Linked DNA regions of Homo sapiens: all the other regions are linked to region 1. Evidence: promoter capture Hi-C in human tissues and cell types (Jung and others, 2019). All regions are on one chromosome and are shown on one strand. The core of a region is centred on a gene start or on the middle of the fragment in contact, and the rest is flanking DNA. Distances in the headings are between cores, read along the strand shown.

Evidence for each region. Contacts are between HindIII fragments. The study calls those that stand out against the background at their distance.
Region 2: a fragment that was not itself captured here is called in contact with the fragment with the promoter of NARS2 in region 1 in 1 of the 25 tissues and cell types used here (heart left ventricle).
Region 3: a contact is called between a fragment that was not itself captured here and the fragment with the promoter of NARS2 in region 1, in 1 of the 25 tissues and cell types used here (aorta).

What each region holds. Positions count from the first base shown.
Region 1 is chr11:78,573,422-78,576,178 of GRCh38, forward strand. NARS2 (asparaginyl-tRNA synthetase 2, mitochondrial) reads right to left here and starts at 1,443. Exons shown (of 14, transcript NM_024678.6): 1 at 927-1,443. The coding sequence starts at 1,067. RefSeq lists enhancers at 829-938, 1,599-1,738. The HindIII fragment of the contact is 12,241 bases long and covers 1-2,757 here.
Region 2 is chr11:78,282,672-78,285,428 of GRCh38, forward strand. All of the region lies in intron 1 of GAB2 (GRB2 associated binding protein 2), which reads right to left. Among named protein-coding and RNA genes, the nearest start is that of USP35, 95 kb to the left of the region's middle. The HindIII fragment of the contact is 4,493 bases long and covers 1-2,757 here.
Region 3 is chr11:78,314,919-78,317,675 of GRCh38, forward strand. The region is part of intron 1 of GAB2 (GRB2 associated binding protein 2); the gene reads right to left. The region is part of intron 2 of LOC105369402 (a long non-coding RNA gene); the gene reads left to right. Among named protein-coding and RNA genes, the nearest start is that of GAB2, 100 kb to the right of the region's middle. The HindIII fragment of the contact is 3,914 bases long and covers 1-2,757 here.

The sequences.
Region 1 (2,757 bases), core at 193-2,692:
GCTACTCTGGAGGCCGAGGCAGGAGGATTGCTTGAGCCTGGGAGATGGAGGTTGTAGTCATCTGAGATCACATCACTGCGCTCCAGTCTGGGTGACAGAGCTAGACCCTGTCTCAAAAAATAAATAACCACATCAGTGTACTTCAGCAACCTAATAAGAAACAGTCAAACACCTTGTTTATTCTGCACCTCTTCTATGTGGAGCTGCTGCAAATAATATAATCAGCAAGAGAAACAATAGCAGCTAACATTTGTAGACTATGAGCCACTGTTCTAAATATCTTACTTCCATTACCTCATTTAATTTTCAGGACTCAGGGACAATTATTATCTCTTTCCATAAGAGGAAAATAAGGTGTAGAACGCATAAACGCTATGCAGAGATTTAAACCTAAGCAGCTTAACTCCAGAGCTCTTTCAAACTGCTACATTCCAGTCTTTCTCCGAATTCATTAAAAATAAATTACATGCAGACCCCCACAATAGGCACTGAGGTCGCTAAAAGTTTAAAAGGCATGGTTTGAACAAGTATTTGCTGTCAGCCATGTGTGAATACAAAGGCAGGTAAGACACGGTTTCTGCTCTCAAGGAGGGAGGTCAAGACAACCACTTTATAAACCTGGATATTCATTATAAGGGATAAAGATAGAGAAAGGGGGCTTGTTCATTTACACTTTTGGTATGATTAACAAGTTTACAGGTAATACCCTGGAATCATGAAAGCAAAGTTCCAGCGCTTTACAGTTATCGGAACAGTTTTGTGAAAAGTAATGGAAATCAGAAAAGTGCAAACCCGCGACGCCTACACTTTCTAACTTTTCCCTGCTGGCGGTTGTGTCTGACCCGACTGTAAAAGAAAAGCTAGATGTGGATGTGCCATATAAAAGTCCCTACAAGAAAAAACCCACTCCCTTCCCATTCACCAACCTGGATCTTAATGCGCTCCCCACTCGCGTTCTGAGCCCCGAGAGCGTCCCGCACGCTCAGTTTGGCTGAAGGTTTGTGCTTGGGGAAGGGGGCGGAGGAACAGAAGCGCACGGACCGCAGCAGGCAGCGGACCCCCAGCATCCCGCGTCCGCCCAGGCCCTCCGCGGGAGCAGCCCAGACCCCACGGTTCGAACCCCGCCTGCAGCGGCCCTCCTTTCTCAGCTGCTCCCCTTCCGCGGCCGCAGCTCTGCTCTAAGGCACTCCAGAGCCCCTCGGCTGCGCGCTTTCTCCTTCAGGACTCCCAGCTCTGTCCCCACAGAACCTCTCCGCTTCCCACTTCCCAACGGGGCGGAATGGACAGGACACTAGGCAAACGCCAGAAAGAAACCACGTGCAGTTGGCAGCTGGGGCGCCCCACTACCCGCGACAATTGTAAACCTACGAACAGAACCCGGGCCGCAACACGCGCAACCACTCCTACCACACCACGCCAACGCCGCTTACGTCATCACGCTACGGGGAAGAAGGGAGAGCATGCGTACTTGTGACCCAGGCTTAGGGAGGCGTGCGGGAGGGGGCGGGGTCAGGAGCCGAGACGGGGCGGAGCTAATGCCCTAAGGTTGTAGAGATTATCGCTGAAAGAACGTGGGAGCACATCTGAGGGTCTTCATTTCTAAAGTTTCCAGGTGAGGCTGAGAAACTGAGAGGCAAGGAGTGACTGATGGAGAGGGAAACCGTCTCCATCAGTCAACAATAGGGATCCAAGTAAGAGGAGGCTCTTAGCTGTTAACAGGATTCGCTTGAAGAGATCAGTCGTTCCTTTCCTGAGTACTCCGCAGAGAAAAATCAGACATAGCCCCAATGCGCAAGTCACAGTTGTGTGGTATCAGACAGCTAAACAGACAGTTGCATAAAAGGGCGATCAGTTTGCCTGACAGAGCCTAAGCGTGGGACGCCAGAGATGGCTTCCTGGAGAAAGTAGTCCTCTGACAGGTAAATAAAAGGAACTGGAGGGACCTTGCATATGGCAGGCAAGACGGTGGGAAGATGTTGCAGAGACTGGAGGAAACTCGAGTGTTTCCTGCCAGAATCCTCCAAGTCTCCCTCTTCCCTCTGCCCTCCAACACAGCTATCTGCATTTGTTTGACCTGGAAACAATGACCCTTTTATATATTAGGCTACGTTTTATTAAAAAAAAAATTCTGTAACTCAATGACGGTCATTAAAAGGTTTTTAATCTAATTTAAAAAGTAAAACGTTTGGCCAAGTGCGGTGGCTCACGCCTGTAATCCCAACTCTTAGGGAGGCAGAAGCAGGAGGATTGCTTCAGCCCAGGAGTTCAAGACCAGCGCTCGCCCTCGCTGTCTCTCTCCCGCTCCCTCTCACTCTCACTCTCTCTCTCTCACTTTTACCTTACTTAAAGTTGCTACTATTATTATACCCATTTTACAAATGAGAGAACTTACGCACAGAAAGGCTAGATGACCTACTTAAGGATACACATTCCCTAAGTGTGAGATTTAAACCCAGAAGTGCTGGCTCTATGCACTTAAGCAGTATGCTGTATTACATAGTGTCCCAAGGTGATCTGTTCCATCAAGGAGCTCATGCTTTAGAGATGGAGACAAGCAAGAAAAGAGACTACTGAAATATAAACCAGTAAGTGCACACATAGATGTATGAGTTGTCTGCATTTGTTTGGACTGAAAAGTCACCCTTATATATTAGGCTACCTCTTAAATTTATCCAAAAAATTATTTTTGATATTTTATCCAAATATTATATTGGATAAAATATAATACAATTATAATATATACATGTATCACAATTT
Region 2 (2,757 bases), core at 154-2,653, 290 kb before region 1:
TCACTACCACCACCACCATTTTCCCTACCTACCCCATAGGGTTATTATGTGAGCCCAAAGCACTTTGTATACACCCTGAAGCACTACAAATGTCAAGGATTTGATTATCACAATTCTTTAGACCCCATGGGATCTACACTCCATTAATTCTACCATCTTTTCACTCTCACCTTTCATCCCTGTCCTCTTTTCTTTCCTTATCCAACTCTATTTCTGCGATCCATTATCATAATTATTCCCTTGCTTCTTTCTCCATTCCTCTTATTTACCCAGCAAACCCCAGCTAAGTCTAATGCTCTGCCAACTCTACCTGTTCCCACTTGGCTGTACATACATGGAGAAAATCATATGACCATGCTGACTGGTCTCACTTTTACTTCAAGTGGCCCCTCATGTTGCCCAACAATCCTACTATATTTACCTAGTCAATGACTTTCTCCTGTTCTTTGGCAACAATCTCTTGGCCTCTCTCTTTAAACCTCCAATGCCTCCACTCTTTTATATCTTATTTCATGAGAAAACACAAACAATCAAAAGAAAATTTACACATGTTCCATGACTACATTTACCATCCTGCCTGCACCTGTAGCTGTGAGCTCTGTTACTAGGGAGCATAGACAGTCCACCCAATGAAGGCCAACCTTTTTCCATTTGTGCACAAAGACATCACTTCAACAATTCTCCCCTTCTTCAGAATCGTTGCATTTTTCCTCCTGACTAGGATGATTCCCATCAAGACATCAACGTTTCCTATCTCAGAAGAAAAAATTAAAAGTTTGACTTGATCCCACAATTCTTCACCAACTATGGCCCAGTTTTTCTACTTCTCTTTATAGTGATACTTCAAAGAGTATTATATACTACTAATCTTTGTTTCCTCCCCTCCTATTCGAAGGCACTATAATCAGGCTATCCCCCATCCCCCCACCACCCCAACTGCACCACTGAAATAGCTCATCAAAGGTGTCAAAGACTTCAGTGCTGATAAATCAACTCATGGGCCTTAACTTGATCTCTCTTGATCTCTCTCCAACATCTGACAACAGTTTATTATTCCATCCTCTTTGAAACACTTTCTTCACCTGGCTTCAGCATGCACTCTCAACTCTCCTTCTATCTACCGGGCCTCTCTTTTTCAGTCTCCAGTGCTGGCTCCTCTTCACCTCCCTGACATCCGAACATTAGAATGCCCCAATGCTCAGTTCTGAGATTCTTTTTTTTTTTTCTACACCCACTCTCTAGGTCATTTTATTCAGTTTCACAGCTTTAAAAAACCATCGAATTGCTGTGATTCCCAAATTTATATCTCTAGCCCTAGAGTTGTATATCCAACTCCTCACTAGTAGGTATCTCAACATTAATGTGTTCAAAACTGAGGTCCTGATATCTCCCAGATCTGTTCTTCCTGCACTCTCTCCCATCTCATTTACCAGCACCTTCAGCCTTCCAGTTGTCAGACCAAAAATCTATGTATCATAGCTGACTCCTTTCATACTCTACATCTAACCCAAAAGCAAATCCTGTCAGTTCAGACAGTTCAGAATATATCAACAATGAGCTTGCTTCTCCTCACCTCCACTGTTGCTCACCTGGTCTAGTCCACCATTTTGTAGTCTTCCTGCTTCCACCCTTTCATCCTGCAGTCTATCCTCAACCGCAAAGTAAGAAAGCAGGAAGTAAATCAGAAGATGCCACTTCTCCGCTCACCATCTGCAATGGCTGTTCATCTCACTCAGAGTAAAGCCAAAGTCCCCACAATGGCCTACAGGCCTGATGGGACTGAGCCTCATCCCACCCCTCACCTCAGCTCCTGCTGCCCTCTGCCTTGCCTATTCTGCTCTGGCCACGTGGCCTTACACAGTGCCAGGCGTGCTCCTGCCTCACGGTCTTTAGTCTAGTTGTTTCCTGGCCCTGGAACACTCCTCCCCCAGATATTTCCATTGCTTAATCTTTTTTTCTAGTCCTTATTCAAATGTCACATTACTGGACAGGCTATTCCTGGTCCCCGATGCTCCCACTCTCTTTCCCCCCTTACCCTGCTTTACTGGTCTCACAAAGCATGTATACCCCCAAAAGATATCAATTTTTATGACTTTTCCGCACCCACCTCCCAGAAAGTAAACTCCTCCAGGACAAGGATTGGTTCTTTTTATTCCATGATGCATCCTTGGTGTTTAGAATATTGCCTGGCACATAGCTAGTAATCAATATATATATAATTAATGAATCATTTTCTTGCATGAAATCCTTCTATTATCTAGCAGGTCAAAGGAGACATAACTGGTGCCCAATAAGCCTTAGACTGAAATGAAAATTGAGGTATAGCCAGATAGGATGGAGCTGAGAAAAATAAAAATAAGTACTATTTATTTATAGTAATTTAAAATCTTAACCCGGTCACTGCTTTCAGAATTATGCATGTACTTCTGTGTGCTGCAGGTTCACACATAGACACATAGTGTGTGGGCACCAAGGTGCATTTTAAAAAGATCTGTTTCTAGTTCAGCTGGCATTTCAGTTGATGTGTCCCCGTTAGTCTTGTCTCTGTGGAAAGAGCTGTCCCCAAATCTCTGGTATGCAGGTGCAAGCACAAAAAACACAGACACCCTCATGAACAAGAAAACCATGTTTGCTACAGATAATATCAGAGCCTGTCAGGTTTTGCTTCCAAGTAAGTGGTGTAGGCTGATAAATGGCTGCCTACAAAATACTGATATATTTATGACAGAGTCAGCAAGGCTGTCTAGTCTAGTCCCA
Region 3 (2,757 bases), core at 149-2,648, 260 kb before region 1:
AATGAACGTGGTCTGTAAAGGCAGGGCTTGCTATGGGAGCAGTGAGAACTAACATGACTCCATTACAGCTTCACAGTGGCAGCGAGGGAGACAGCAGATAAAGCTCAGAAAACAGGCTGGACACAGACTGTAGAAAAGCTTTCAAAGAGTTTCAGAAGAGACAGCAAACTGAAGGAGCTAATTGAGAGAGTAAGAGAAGGAAGGAGAGTAAAAGGGCAGGGGGGAGGAGGTCTCTGAGTGAATTATAAACACACTTCAAAGTTCTGCTCACGGCTGGCTGTCTATCCCAATCTTATTTTATTTTGTTTTGCTTTTCCTCTCAGTCTATTCCCCTCTTCTTCTCGCATTATTTCAAAATGGCTTTCCCCCCTTTTTAATGTCTTTGAACTGCCAAGGATAGCAAGAAGCCTGCTTTTAGGGGATCCTCAGGAATATTTCACCTTCTGTTTTCTCATCTATAAGGTAATTATAACACATCCTAGGACTATCACACAAATACAAAAGAAATAACAGAACTTTTCAGCAAATGGTGCTGGGAAAACTGGATATCCACATGTAAAAAAACAGCTGGACCCTTATACCATATACAAAAATTAACTCAAAATGGACCAAAGACCTAAATATAAGAATGAAAATGATAAACCTCTCAGAAGAAAACATAGAAAAAATGTTTCATGACAATGGATTTGACAATGTTTTCTTGGATGTGACACCAAAGGTATAGGTAGCAAAACAAAAAATAGATAAATTGGACATCAAAATTAAAACTTTAGTGAATCAAAGGACACAATCAACCAAGTGAAAAGACAATCCACTGAATGGAAGAAAATATTTGCAAATCATATATCTGGTAAAGGATTTGTGATGGTTAATATTAGGTGTCAACTTGATTGGATTGAAGGATGCCTAGATGGCTGGCGAAGTACTGTTTCTGGGTTTATCTGTGAAGGTGCTGCCAGAGGAGGTTGACATTTGAGTCAGTGTACTGAGAAAGGAAGAGTCACCCTTAATATGGTTGGGCACCATCCTACTGCCTGTCAGCATGGCCAGAAGAAAGCAAGCGGAAGAAGGTGGAATAAGCTTGCTTGCTGAGGCTTCTGGCTTCCTTCTCCCCACTCCCCCTCCCCCTGCCATATTGGATGCTTCCTCCCGCTCCTCCTGCCCTTGGACATCAGACTTCAGGTTCTTTGGCCTGACACTGGGACTTGCACGGGGGGCCAGGGGGTGGGTGTCCTGCCTTTGGGACTGACTTAAAGGCTGCACTGTTGTTTTCCCTGGTTTTGAGGCTTTCAGACCCAAACTGAGCCACTACCGGCTTCTCTCTTCCCCAGCTTCCAGATGGCCTATTGTGGGACTTTGCATTATAACTGTGTGAGCCAATTCTTTACTTTCATAATATACATATTATGAAATATGTATAAACTCCCTTTCATATATACATATTATTAGTTCTGTCCCTCTGGAGAACACTGACTAGTACAGGATTATAAGGGGTTAATAACTAGAATATATAAAGAACTACAATAACAACAAAAACAAACAACTTAACTAAAAATTGACAAAGGACTTGAATAGACATCTCTCCAAAGAAGGGATACAAAATGACCAAGAAGCACATGAAAAGATGCTCATGTCACTAATCATTGGGGAAATGCAAATCAAAACAATGAAATACTACCTTGCACCTATTAATATGGCTACTTTAAAAAATAGAAATAAGTGTTGGTGAGAATATGGAGAAACTGGAACCCTTGTGCAATGTTGGTGGGGATATAAAATAGTGCAGCTGCTATAGAAGAGAGTAAGGCAATTCCTCAAAAAATTGAAAATAGAATTACCATATGATCCAGTAATTCTACTTTTGGATACAGACCCCAAAAAACTGAAAGCAGGAACACAAACGGAATATTTTTACACCTATGTTCATTGCAGCATTAGTCAGAAGAGCCAAAAGGTGGAAGCTACCCACATGTCACTGGTGGATGAATGGAGATATAAAACACAGTACATGCATACAATGGAATACTATTCAGCCTTAAAAAGGAAGGAAATTCTGACACATGCTACAGCAGGGATGAACCTTAAGGGCATTAAGCTAAGTGAAATAAGCAGTTAGAAAATACCATGTGATTCCACTTATATGACAAAGTTACATGGCAAGCCTAGAGTAGCCAGATTCAGAGAGACAAAAAATACAACAGTGGTTATTAGGCCACCGGAGGAATAGGGCATCAATGTCTAATGGGTATAGTTTCAGTTTGGGAAGCTGAAAGGAGTTTTGGAGATGGATGGTGGTAATGGCTGCACAGCAATATGAATGCATTTAATGTCACTGAACTATACACTTAAAAGTGATTACGATGGGCCGGGCACAGTGGCTCACGCCTGTAATCCCAGCACTTTGGGAGCCAAGGTGGACAGATCGTAAGTTAAGAGATTGAGACCATTCTGGCCAACATGGTGATACCCCATCTCTACTAAAAATACAAAAATTAGCTGGGTGTGGTGGCGGGCAGCTGTAGTCCCAGCCACTCGGGAGGCTGAATCGGGATAATCGCTTGAACCTGGGAGGCGGAGGTTGCAGTGAGCTGAGATGGCGCCACTGCACTCCAGCCTGGCAACAGTGCGAGACTCCGTCTCAAAAAAAAAAAAAAAAAAAAAAAGATGATTATGATGGTAAACTTTATGTTATGTGTATTTTATCACAATCAAAAGAAGAAATAATTTTTTTAAAAAGTAACATATATTAAGCATTCA